2 separate regions of the Homo sapiens genome follow, and region 2 is linked to region 1. Evidence: promoter capture Hi-C in 16 types of primary human blood cells and fetal thymus (Javierre and others, 2016). All regions are on one chromosome and are shown on one strand. Each heading gives the region's core, a stretch centred on a gene start or on the middle of the fragment in contact. The rest is flanking DNA. Distances are from core to core; before and after follow the strand shown.

What was found. Contacts are between HindIII fragments. The CHiCAGO score rates a contact against its expected background, and 5 or more counts as called.
Region 2: a contact is called between a fragment that was not itself captured here and the fragment with the promoter of STPG2 in region 1, in 1 of 17 cell types (fetal thymus). The highest score is 5.8, in fetal thymus.

What each region holds. Positions count from the first base shown.
Region 1 is chr4:98,141,368-98,147,047 of GRCh38, forward strand. STPG2 (sperm tail PG-rich repeat containing 2) reads right to left here and starts at 2,109. Exons shown (of 11, transcript NM_174952.3): 1 at 1,675-2,109. The coding sequence starts at 1,783. RefSeq lists an enhancer at 1,836-1,935. The HindIII fragment of the contact is 14,460 bases long and covers 1-5,142 here.
Region 2 is chr4:95,157,752-95,163,431 of GRCh38, forward strand. It overlaps UNC5C (unc-5 netrin receptor C), which reads right to left. Exons shown (of 16, transcript NM_003728.4): 16 at 4,753-5,680. It overlaps BMPR1B (bone morphogenetic protein receptor type 1B), which reads left to right. Exons shown (of 13, transcript NM_001203.3): 13 at 1-697. Among named protein-coding and RNA genes, the nearest start is that of UNC5C, 390 kb to the right of the region's middle. The HindIII fragment of the contact is 197 bases long and covers 3,448-3,644 here.

The DNA.
Region 1 (5,680 bases), core at 859-3,358:
GGCACTCTTTTAGGTCTGATAAGAAGCATTTTACAACCTGCTCCCTCTCTCTGAAGTCTGCTATCTGAGAGTTTCCTCTGCACAACAAAACTTGGTCTCCACAATCCTGTATCTTAACCTGAACATTTCTTTTGATGCCAGTCTTCAGATAGACTCAACCAATTGTCAACCAGAAAATGTTTAAATTTACCTATAGCCTGGAAGCCCCCACTTTGAGTTGTCCCGCCTTTCTGAACAAAGCCAATGTATTTATTAAGTGTACTTGATTAATAACTCATGCCTCCCTGAAATACATAAAGCCAAGCTGTACCCCAACCACCTTGGGCACATGTTCTCAGGACCTCCTGAGGGCTGTGTCACAGGCCATGGTCACTCATATTTGGCTCGGAATAAATCTCTTAAAATATTTTACAGAGTTTGACTCTTTTCATCAACAAGAAACATAAAAACATTTAAAGAAGGCCATGAAGGACTGCTTGGAGAGGGGGAGAAGATGATGCCCTGATTCGGCATTTAACAAATGTTTATTAGGTCCCAATCATGTTCCCAGACACTCTTCCAAGACAGTAGTTGGGAAAAAAAAAAAAAAAAAAAACAGGAGGAAATGATGTTACATTTTGGAAAGAAGTGTTTCCAAGAATAAAGTGGTCAGTTATGTCAAAATTAAGGATTGCAAAGTGTCACAGGGGGTCATTGTTAGCCATTGTTAGGGGAATTAATGCTTATAATGCCCAACTCCATTAAAATAAAGATAGAATAAGCTGCAAGAATAGTGATACCAGATACTGTGAAGCAGTACAATTCAACATGTGAAACACTGACAGAAGTCAAATTTGTACTCCACCCCAAGAAACCTAAACCTTCCCTTATCTGATCAGTTATGTAACAGAATAATGGATCCTGGCATTTGCTTGAAAATACATAGTGTAGGTATGGGGAAAATGTAGGTTAAGAAAAACTATCATTTGGACGGTATTAAGCTCCAGAAAATCACCAGAATAGAAAAAGTAGAAAGCAAAATTGATGTATTTATTTTTGACTAAGTCACTAACTGCAAACAAACGAGGAGAGCAAATATTATTTAAATTATCCATCCCCACTCCACTGGTCAAAAATATAATTTTTCTTTACAGAATGTGGAGAAAAGGGGCTCCCCTGAAGTGTGTTAAAAGAGATGAGGACGGTCAGAAAAATCTGTCTGAAAAAAAAACGGAACTATCTTTAAATAATACTGCAAAATAGAAATATAAGCTACATCTTAATAAATAAATGTCTCTGGTTAATGGGAGGAAAGATGTGAGGCAGGCAGGATTACAAAGCAACGAGACAGCGGGAGGTAAGGGCACAGGATTTGGAGACTCATATATTATGTCAACACAGCCAGGAAATCAAAATCCTAGACCTAAACTGCACAATCAAAAGTAGGATGTAGACAACTATTGCGGAATCAAAAGTCCTAGCCATATGCTCACCAGCCTTTTGAAATGGGACAAGTGATACTATCAGTCTCATCTGTAAAATAAAAGTATAGTGTTTTCCCTGCCTACTTCATGTTTTGTTATGTTTACAAAATGGTACTATTCCGCTCTATGTTTAACTCACAAGCACGCAGAAGCGGAGCAGGCTGAAGATAGGATGCCTGTCACAGGAGCTCTGCCTCTTCCTACATCTTACCTGTCGCCTGCTGCTTCAGGAAAGGTACCTGGTAGGATCCAGGACCCACATGGGCCTCAGTGCTGCCACCTTCAGCCAATTTGAGCAGGCGGGGAGCCCGATCATACATAGTGCTCGGGGTGGTGGGGGCGCTGGGGAAGGGCAGGTGCCGAAAACGATAAAAACAAGGTAGCTAGAAGTGTGGAGAAAAAGGAAGCCGACACCAGTCTGAGGAGGCCGGGAAAGAACTTCCGTAAACAGGGAAATTAGGGGTGGGGTTGTCTCCCCGCCCGCTCATTGATACCAGATTTCCTCAAATCGATTTCTAGCTCTGTGGTAAAGTAGAGGGGTGAGCGACTAGAGATTAGACGTCCCACACAATCATCAGTTTGCCAGGTGCACGCCACCAAAATTGGGTATTAGGGATTAGACGCTCGCCCCGGTGCTTCCGGCCCTGACTCCGCCCACTTCTCTCCGCCCGGAAGCCTGGGGAGGAGGCGGGCCCAGTCTCTGGGGAGGAGGCGGGCCCAGTCTCTAGGGAGCGAAGTGGAGGTGCCTTCCTGGGCCGAGCCCTCGGAGCATGCGCACCGAGCAGCCACCCTTTCCCGGCTCTTTTTACCCGGAACCCGGCGCGCCTTGAAGAAGGCAGGCCTAAACCTCGTAGCTCTTGGGGTCCCGGTAACTACTTAGGTCCCGAACTTTTTTAAGTATGCAGAAGAACCTTAGAAAACGCGTTAGGAAGGGTGAGGACTAACTTGACCTTGATCTGCTTCCCGACTCAACAGAACCTAGTAAAGAAAAATGCAGTAGCATGAAGCAGAGAGCTTGGGGTTCCGCAAGCTCTCCCCCGCTTCTACTGCAGCCCCACTCGTACTCACAGAGAAAAGGCACCTCTGATCTTAACCTGTAGATAGTCCAAACTGCTAAGACAAACCCAGGGCTCAGGGCAGTGACAAGAAATGGAGAACCCAGAAAAAAAAATAACAAATAAGATAAGGGTAAAAAAGAAAAAAAAAAAAAAAGAAATGAGGACACCAGGCAAGGAGGCGAAAAGCTCACCAACTGAAGCCGTGGAAGTGACTGAAAGCTGCCTCTTTTGTCGTATGCCAGGTAACCACAATACTGATTCATCAATATTTAAAAAGCAAAGCGAAGGCACTGAAAAAGCCCAGTCCACCCCACCAAACCAATGATTCTGAACCTTGGGCAAAAGAAACCTTGCTTGTCCTTGGGGCTTAAGGAATCTATGTCAGAATCCACCTCTGCATCTCGCAGGCTGTTTTTTCTAGCAAGAATTCTGTCCAGATTATAAATATCCTCAGAGGCTTAGACAAATCCTACCTTGATCATACCTCACCTCCAAATGGTCTACAGTACGTTAATTTGTTCCTACTACAAGTTTTTATAGTTTTCATACTCTGTAATACACGATTTGCCACTCAATCCTGTGCAACATTTACTGTGGCTTCATTGTGCCATATAGGTCGGAACCCTCTCCTTGCGAGGCTATATGCTTCTCAAGGATGTATCTGTAGTACCTTTTTTTCTGTTCAATAGCTAGCTAAATTATTTATGCACTTAAAAAACACGAATTGGCATATACTGTAGGTTCCATCCCTGCTAAGTTATGAGGATACAAAGGCATAAGAAAGTCCCTGCCCTCAGGTGTTCTCTCTCTAATGGGGAAAGAGACGTATAATCCAAAACGAGAGGTGGCAAAGATTTTTTTTAATGGTAGGAAAATGAATATTGCAATATTTTGGAAACATCTCACCAACTTCGATTCTCCCTGCATTCTGTCAGAAACCCTCATAATTCTCTCAATGTTGTTTTAACCTTATTTTCCAAGCTGCCACCTATACCCATTCAGAAGATCTAGATATTTACTATGACATATTAGAAAGAGTCACAGAGATGAAAGAGAAAAATTCATGTGCTGTGTATGATAATCCAGTGGTGCTTGTAAATTTGCCCGCTATGTCCTTAAGGACATCATTTGACCTTGATGATCCAAACAAGGATATCAACCCAAACTGCATACTCAGGTCTAGGCCATGGTTGCCGTAAGCATTGATGCAGAATTTCAAGCCCTGTCTGGCCATTCTGTCTGCAGTAGTCTACATTACTCTTTGCTTGAATATACATATTTTTGGAGATTGGAAATGGAAATGGTAAAGCTGGCTTTATATGCTTTCTGTCTGATTTGATTTTCAGCCATTGAATGTAACCTAATTTAGACAAAGGGAGTTCTTCATAGCACCCTTCCTAGCTCATTTGCAGACCTCTATGGGAGAGTTTCTGAGTACCAGCTAGGAAAACACTGTTTATTTACCTTGCCTGCCTCCTGAGTGAATGCTTTTTCCTCAAGGACTTCACAGAGATGGGTAGCTGATCAATGGCAGGACCCCAGTGTTTGTGGGTCTTCTGGCCAGATCCTACCTAAATATTACACACTGAAGTGCAACCTATATACTCTTCATAATTTGGTAATTGGTCTCTCAAAATTCTGCATTCTTAACAAAAAAAAATCTTTCTTTTAAAAGTTTCTATGAGGCCAGGTGCAGTGGTTCACACCTGTAATCCTTAATCCTAGCACTTTGGGGGGCCCAGGCAGGAGGATTGCTTGAGGCCAGAAGTTCAAGACCAGCCTGGGCAACATAGGGAGATTCCACCTGCACACACACAAAAATTTTTTTTTAATTAAAAATTAGCCAAGTAGGAATTTGAGATTACAGCAAGCTATGATGGTACCACCGCACTCCAGCCTGGAAGACAAAGCAAGACCCTGTCTTAAAAGAAAATTGTTTATGAGAACACTTGGACACAGGAGGGGGAACATCACACACCGGGGCCTGTCGTGGGGTGGGGGAAGGGGGGAGGGATAGCATTAGGAGATATACCTAAAGTAAATGACGAGTTAATGGGTGCAGCACACCAATATGGCACATGTATACATATGTAACAAACCTGCACGTTGTGCACATGTACCCTAGAACTTAAAGTATAATTAAAAAAAAAAAGAAAATTGTTTGAATTTCCTTTTCAAACAATTCAAATAGTATGAAAATTTCTATTTCCTTGATGACTGTGGCTACTCTCTATATTTCCCAGCTATTATTTCCTCCTTATGGTTCAGTAATGAGAATGGTACACAGTATTTCAAGATTGGAAAATATTTTTTAATGAGAAAAATAAATCTTTTTCATTATCTCTCATTGTAAATATTTCTTCAATAGTCTGGAATTAGTATACTAAAAAAAATATGTTAACACAGAATTATAATTACATATAAATATGAAATAATTTGGTTCAGCATTTCTCAATTCCTCCAAAAGTTTTAATGCTAATTAACCACACTATGTAAACATTTTACTGTATTAGTAATTCCATAGATGGAATTTTTGTTTGAGCTAAGATTTATTGGAGTTCAAAATTTAGGTTCTTTCCATTTCTCCCTGCTGGCTTATACCAGAATAAACTTCAAAATGAAGCTTGAACAAGAATAAGGTCCAAGAAATTAAACTGATTCAATACTGAATATGTTGGCTGCAGTGAAGAAGAGAAAAAGCATATTGGGTAAAAACTAAAGAAATCCAAATAAAGTATGGAGTTTAGTTAATAATGTATTAATATTGTTTCATTGTTTCTTCCTATTTGCTAATTCCATCTACACATACACAAAAAAAAATTTTTTTTGAAGACAGGGTCTTGCTTTGTCTTTCAGGCTGGAATACCATGGTACCATTATAGTTCACTGTAATCTCAAACTCCTGCCTGCTATAGGAGCAAATAGCAGAAACTCTCTATGGGTTATAGATTGAGTTTCTCTCTGTACTTTATAATTTTTCTAAAAATCTAAAACTTTTCTGAAATAAAATTTTACCTAAAAAACAGGCATGAATACCAGATGAAAATTACAACTAAGTCTTACATAACTTAAAAAAGAGATAATTCCAATGTTATTTAAAATATTCCATATTGTAAAGAATTCCTTCCATTTTATTCATGAATGTATATAACTTTAATA
Region 2 (5,680 bases), core at 2,296-4,795, 3.0 Mb before region 1:
GTGTGTAGATTGTTAAATCACAAAAAGAGTGCTATGACCATTATGTATGAGGAAACAGGCCTTTGACCTCCTGGAAAGCACTGCTCAAAAGTCATTAGTGCCCATTTTTGAATTCCCCAAACAGAAAGCTTCTTAGAAAACATGCTGAGATTTTATTTACAGGGAATTCTTTGACACATTTCAATTGGTGTGTAGTCAAGTATAGCAAGTACTTAATAATGACTGAATTTCATGTTCCTACAGTCATACATATTCATTAGAAGTTTTATGTTGTTGGTCTGATCTGATTCTTCTTTGTTTGTGGGTGGAACGGCACTGAGAGAAGTATAGTTTTTTAAACTTGAACATGTTCAGTAGTTACATTGCCTTAGAAAACCCAGACACATAGCAGTGGAAATGAAAGAAATGGCATCAGAAGTGACTTAATTTAGCAATTGTGATTCCTCTTGTAAAACAAAACAAAAAAACAATGCCATATTTTTTGGAGAAAAGTTGGCAATATAGGGGTTTCGTTGTCTGTTTCACAAGAAGACTCATTTGTTCTTTTGGGGGAACCAGTGCCTTACAGATTTTGTATATACTGTAATTATTCAGGACTAGGGAACAAACAATTGTATTGTATTTGTTACAGATTGTATATGGCTTTGTTTTAACATTCCCCTAAATAAAATGGCTTCATTCTCCCCTTGGAAAAAAACATGACTGTTATGTTATAGTTGTGCTTATTTATTTATTTATTTATTTATTTATTTATTATCTTTGAAAATATCCCATTGTAGCAGGTGGGAAGGCACCATGAAGGAGGCAGATGCAGGTAAGTTTTTCACATTTCATGGCAGGAGGACAAGAGAAATGGTCTGATGGCTTCTACTTTCTTTGTGAAGGAAACACAGTCATCTACTGAGAGTGAGGGGAAAGGCAGGGAAGTCAGTGGTTTAAGAGAAGTGAAGAAGGTTTAAAATTGCACTGGAAAATTACAGCTTGATGGGGAAAGAGCCAGATGGTTACGGGCAACTCTGAGGGCCAGGTTAGGCTTCCTGAAGCTGACTGTGGCACAGTGGCCAAGCGTAGACTTGGGACTGCCAGGTGGCCTGTTGGTGTGAATCCAGCTTCCCTCACTCCCTCAGTTGTGTGACTGGGCACATTTTGACCTCTTTATCATGCAAATGCAGCAACAGGTCATGGAAAGTAAGAATTATTACTATCAAGGGGCTGATGGGCCAGAGGAGGGAAGGAATTAATTAGAGGAGCTAACAGACCAACAAACAAACAAACAAACGAACAAAAAACCCAGGTCCCAGGACAGGGAATCCTGATGGGGCGGAGGTGGTATCTCCGCAGTTACTGAGAGAGGGGCTGTGGTCAGTTTCTTCCCCTTGAAGATGTTTCTTCCCCTTGAAGATGAGAATGATGTTAATATCCACTATCTGGAGTTGTTCTGAAGATGAAATGACATAATCCATGCACCAAGCATGTGGTAAGTGCTCAACTATAGTATTAACAGAAATTCATAGTGCCACTTTTCTTGTGGTTTATGATTTTTTTTATCTTTTTGTCAGCAACCCAAATACAGGTATAGAGACAACGAAGATAGGATTCATTCAGGGTACTGGTTTATCATGCAAACGCAGCAACAGGTCATGGAAGGTAAGAATTATTACTATCAAGGGGCTGATGGACCAGAGGAGGGAAGGAATTAATTAGAGGAGCTAACAGACCAAAAAAAAAAAAACAAAAAACAAAACAAAACAAAACAAAAACCCAGGTCCCAGGACAGGGAATCCTGATGGGGCGGGGGCGGAGGTGGTATCTCCACAGTTACTGAGAGAGAGGCTGTGGTCAGATTTCAGAGGGGGAGCAGCTGAGAGTGTGATCGCAGGAGGGGGTGAATTTAATTCATAGGCAACATTGTTGGTGATGAAAGAGGAACCCAAATCCTGGCCTTTAGATTTGTTGTCTTCGTGGATTTTGAAGGTGGCAGTCTTGGGAGAGGAAGGTTGTGAGGCAAAATTCTCCAGTGCCACAGGAGAATGGGAAGGGACGCAGGCAGTGAGAGGCAGAGAGAGGGGCTGGCCAGCTGAGCCGGGAGGCCTGACATGCAAAGCATTGAGTTTTTAATGCAATAATCTGGAATCAGCAGTTTTGTATGAGAAAGACCCCACCTGCCTCCCAGCTGTGGAGTATTTGAGATGTGGAAGGAGGAGGCTGTTGCTGCTGCCCCTGAATTGTCACCTCTGCGAAAGGGGAGGGAATGTGTTAGGGCTATTGTTCCAAGCATTGTGGACCCTGGAGGGCAGAATGAGAAGTTTGGTTTGTGAGGGGATCCATTGGAGATTGGATCAGGACCAGGGAAGCCCAAAATTGTCTGGGGAGTGGAGAGTGCAGGAAGGTTTGCGTCTGACGCAGAGAGAATGAAGAGTTTGCGTGAGATTGGTGGTGGTTAGCCAGCTGCACTTGTGTCAAAAGAGTGCATCCTGATGCTGGAATTCAGACTGACCTGCTTAAATTCCACCATTTTCCACTTTTTTCATTCTTTGGAAGTACATAATCTGAGCCCAGTCTTCCCACCTGTAAATTCCCACCTCTTCGCGCTCTTGTGAGGAACCAATAAGATGAGTGTCTGAATTATGTGAGGGCCCATGCCAGGTACATCACAGGTGCTCAGAAATACTGCTCTTTCCCCTTTCTTTCTTTTCTTTCTTTCCTTCCTCTGTTTTCTTTTTTTTCTTTCTTTCTTTTCTTTTCTTTTCTTTCTTTCCCTCCCTCCCTCCCTCCCTCCCTCCCTCCCTTCCTTCCTTCCCTCCCTCCTTCCTTCCTTCCCTCCCTCCCTTCCTCCCTCCTTCCTCCCTCCCTTCCTCCCTCCTTCCCTCCCTCCCTTCCCTTCCCTTCTTTCTTTCTTTCTTCTTTTTCTTTTTTTCTTTCTTTCTTTCTTTTTTTTTTTTGACAAGGTCTCACTCTGTCTTGCCCAGGCTGGAGTGCAGTGGCATGATCATAGCTCACTGCAGCCTCGATCTCCTGGGCTCAAGTGACTCCCATCTCAGCCTCCCAAGTAGCTGGGACTACAAGCATGCACCACCATGGCTGGCTAATTTTATGTTTAGTAGGGACAAGTCCTCACTATGTTTCCTAGGCTGGTCCCAAACTCCAGGGCTCAAGTGATCTCCCCATCTTAGCCTTCCAAAGTCCTGGGATTACAGGCGTGAGCCACTGTGCCTGGCCAATGCTGCTTTTTCTTCCTGCCATTAGTTTAGCAGGATCTACAATTAGCAACATTTAAAACCAGCTGAGATTTGCTATTGGTACATCTCTCCCACCTTCTGTACACCCCACTTCTGTGTGTCATGGGCTCAAGTTAAACTTTTCGCAGAACTCACAGGCATACTGACAGTAAATCTCAGCTGAGGAAAAAAGGTTATTTTGTTGGCATTGGTCATTTTGTAAGTTGCAAGCTTGTTGTCTCCATCTGGTCACAGCAGCAAAGTACAGATGACTGCACTCTCAGAAGTTTTGTCTCTGCAAAGTAATTTCTAATTTCTACCCTAGGTTCTGATCTGAGCTTAGCTGTGGGGATCTCTGGGGCTGCTGAAGGTTCTTTGCTTGGCACCTGTATGCTGGTACTGAGAGACAGGAGCAGAGGGAGGCCAAGCTTCAGAACTCTCCAGGGACCTCCACTGAGAGACAGGGGCTTAGGTTGGGCCCTCAGTGAAGTCTTTGAAAATGCTTGCATGCCATCCTAGGTAAGGCCTTCTCAGCAGGAATCTCAGCTACCAAAGCTTCTAATTAGGGGTTAGTGGTCTGGTAACAGGGCTGAGCCTTTGCCACCATGGGTTTTCTATGTAAAGTACAGTTTTTGTTTGTGTTTTATTGTTTTCATTGTATTTTCATTGTTTTATATGGAATTTGAGTTCTCTGGCTCAGCTGCAGCCCTTACATCTCCCTTTGATTTTACCCAGGTTCCAGTTTATATATTTCCATTACTTCCTTAGCCTTGGAGAAACATTTGAATTCATGATCCCAGCATGGATTGTTTTAAGTCACTTTCTTCCAGCCCATGGCATGGACCAGCTTCTCAGTGCTGGGCAATTGCTTACACCCTTCAGCCACGGAGGCTGAGGGGAGGGGTGGGGGCAGGTGGCAGTCCATCTAAGGAAGTGTCTCCAGGTCGTTCTCTCATGGAGGACAGGGCTGTCTTTGATTCTAGTCTTCAGCCTCACAGCTGCTTCGCACCTCACAGCTGGAGCCCTTGGCTTGCTCGCCCTAAGGCAGTGGCCAGCAGTCCTGTACCAAGCTGAACTCCTCTGCTGGTAGTTGCTTACCTTTCATTTCCTACCTATTAGTATAGTTGTTTGCAAGCTTCATTTAAAATCAGATCTCTGGGGGCAGGGCTTGACACTCTATTTAGAAGCTCCCGCCCCAGAGAATTCTGCAGAAGTTCTAAGACATTGGTTCTCACCCTTAACCGCTCATTAGTACCACCCGGGAGCTTTTAACACCCAAGACCCAGGCTACCCCCAGACCACTTCCATCAGAATCTCTGGAGGTGTGACCCTGGCGTTAGTTCTTAAGGCCTCTCTGGTGATTCCAGTGTGCAGCTGATTTTTTAGTAGCACCATGCTAAAACCTCATCCTGTGCCTGCAGGAGGTTGTGATCACCATCCACGCAGGACCCAAAGCCTTTCTGTCCCACCGAAGAAACACGTGGCAGCTCTGAACACGCAAGAGAACCTTGTTATTAAGTGAAGGAGGCAGCACTTTGTTGCTTATAAATATAATTTATTACCTGTTTAAAAATTCTTTCTTACATTTTGTACATGTTGGCTGACAGAATAAATGCAGGCAATTTACAAACCAAGGGGACTGCAGGGAAAATCAGGATTGGCAGCCAGGGAGAGAAAAGAGGCACACCCGGAGCTGGTATCCCTCACCTCCACCACTCAGCAAGGCGCCGGACAGATATCCGGAGGGCACTCTGCCTCTGCCGGGGGGTTTTTTTAGAAAAGGAATTGCATAGAAGATACAGCAAGAGGGAACTCCACAACAACAAAAGTGTTCCATATCGGAAAAGCCAAGGTTGTCATGTTTTGTTTAAAAAAGAAAAACGACAAAGCACAAAACCTCAATCCGACCTTTCTGCAGTTGAACTGTTCCAAAGGGGACAGTAGGTGGATGACACTGCCTCTTCAACACGACTGCTGGGGATTTTTCTCTGACAAACATTGGTGTCTTCTTTACAAAGAGCAAAGAGGAAGGTCACCAACTTGCTTCAGCTCAACATTAAACTCAACACATATAACACCATGACATCACACACACACAGTGATGTTCCCTGCAACTGGGCTCGATGCATTATGTCTGGAGGGCGAGGGCTGCGCTACCAATGGCAGATCTAGGAAAGCGTGAAGAAGAGAATGCAAATCACTTGTTCCACTGTTCTGACTGCTGTACTTTTTCTTGTCCATGGCCTGGAGGAGTAGACATCTGAGTTTTTACCCCTACATGTACAGATGCCATTTGTTACTTTCGGGATAGAAAAGGCAAAGGTATTTTACACCAGCTGTAGATTTCTTGCTCTTATATGTCACTCCGAACAGAGTTGTTTTAACATTGAGAACCTATGTAGCTCAGGTCCCCATTCTCTGATGCTGCCTCCATAGTGCTCAGGATCAGAGGCCAAAAGAGA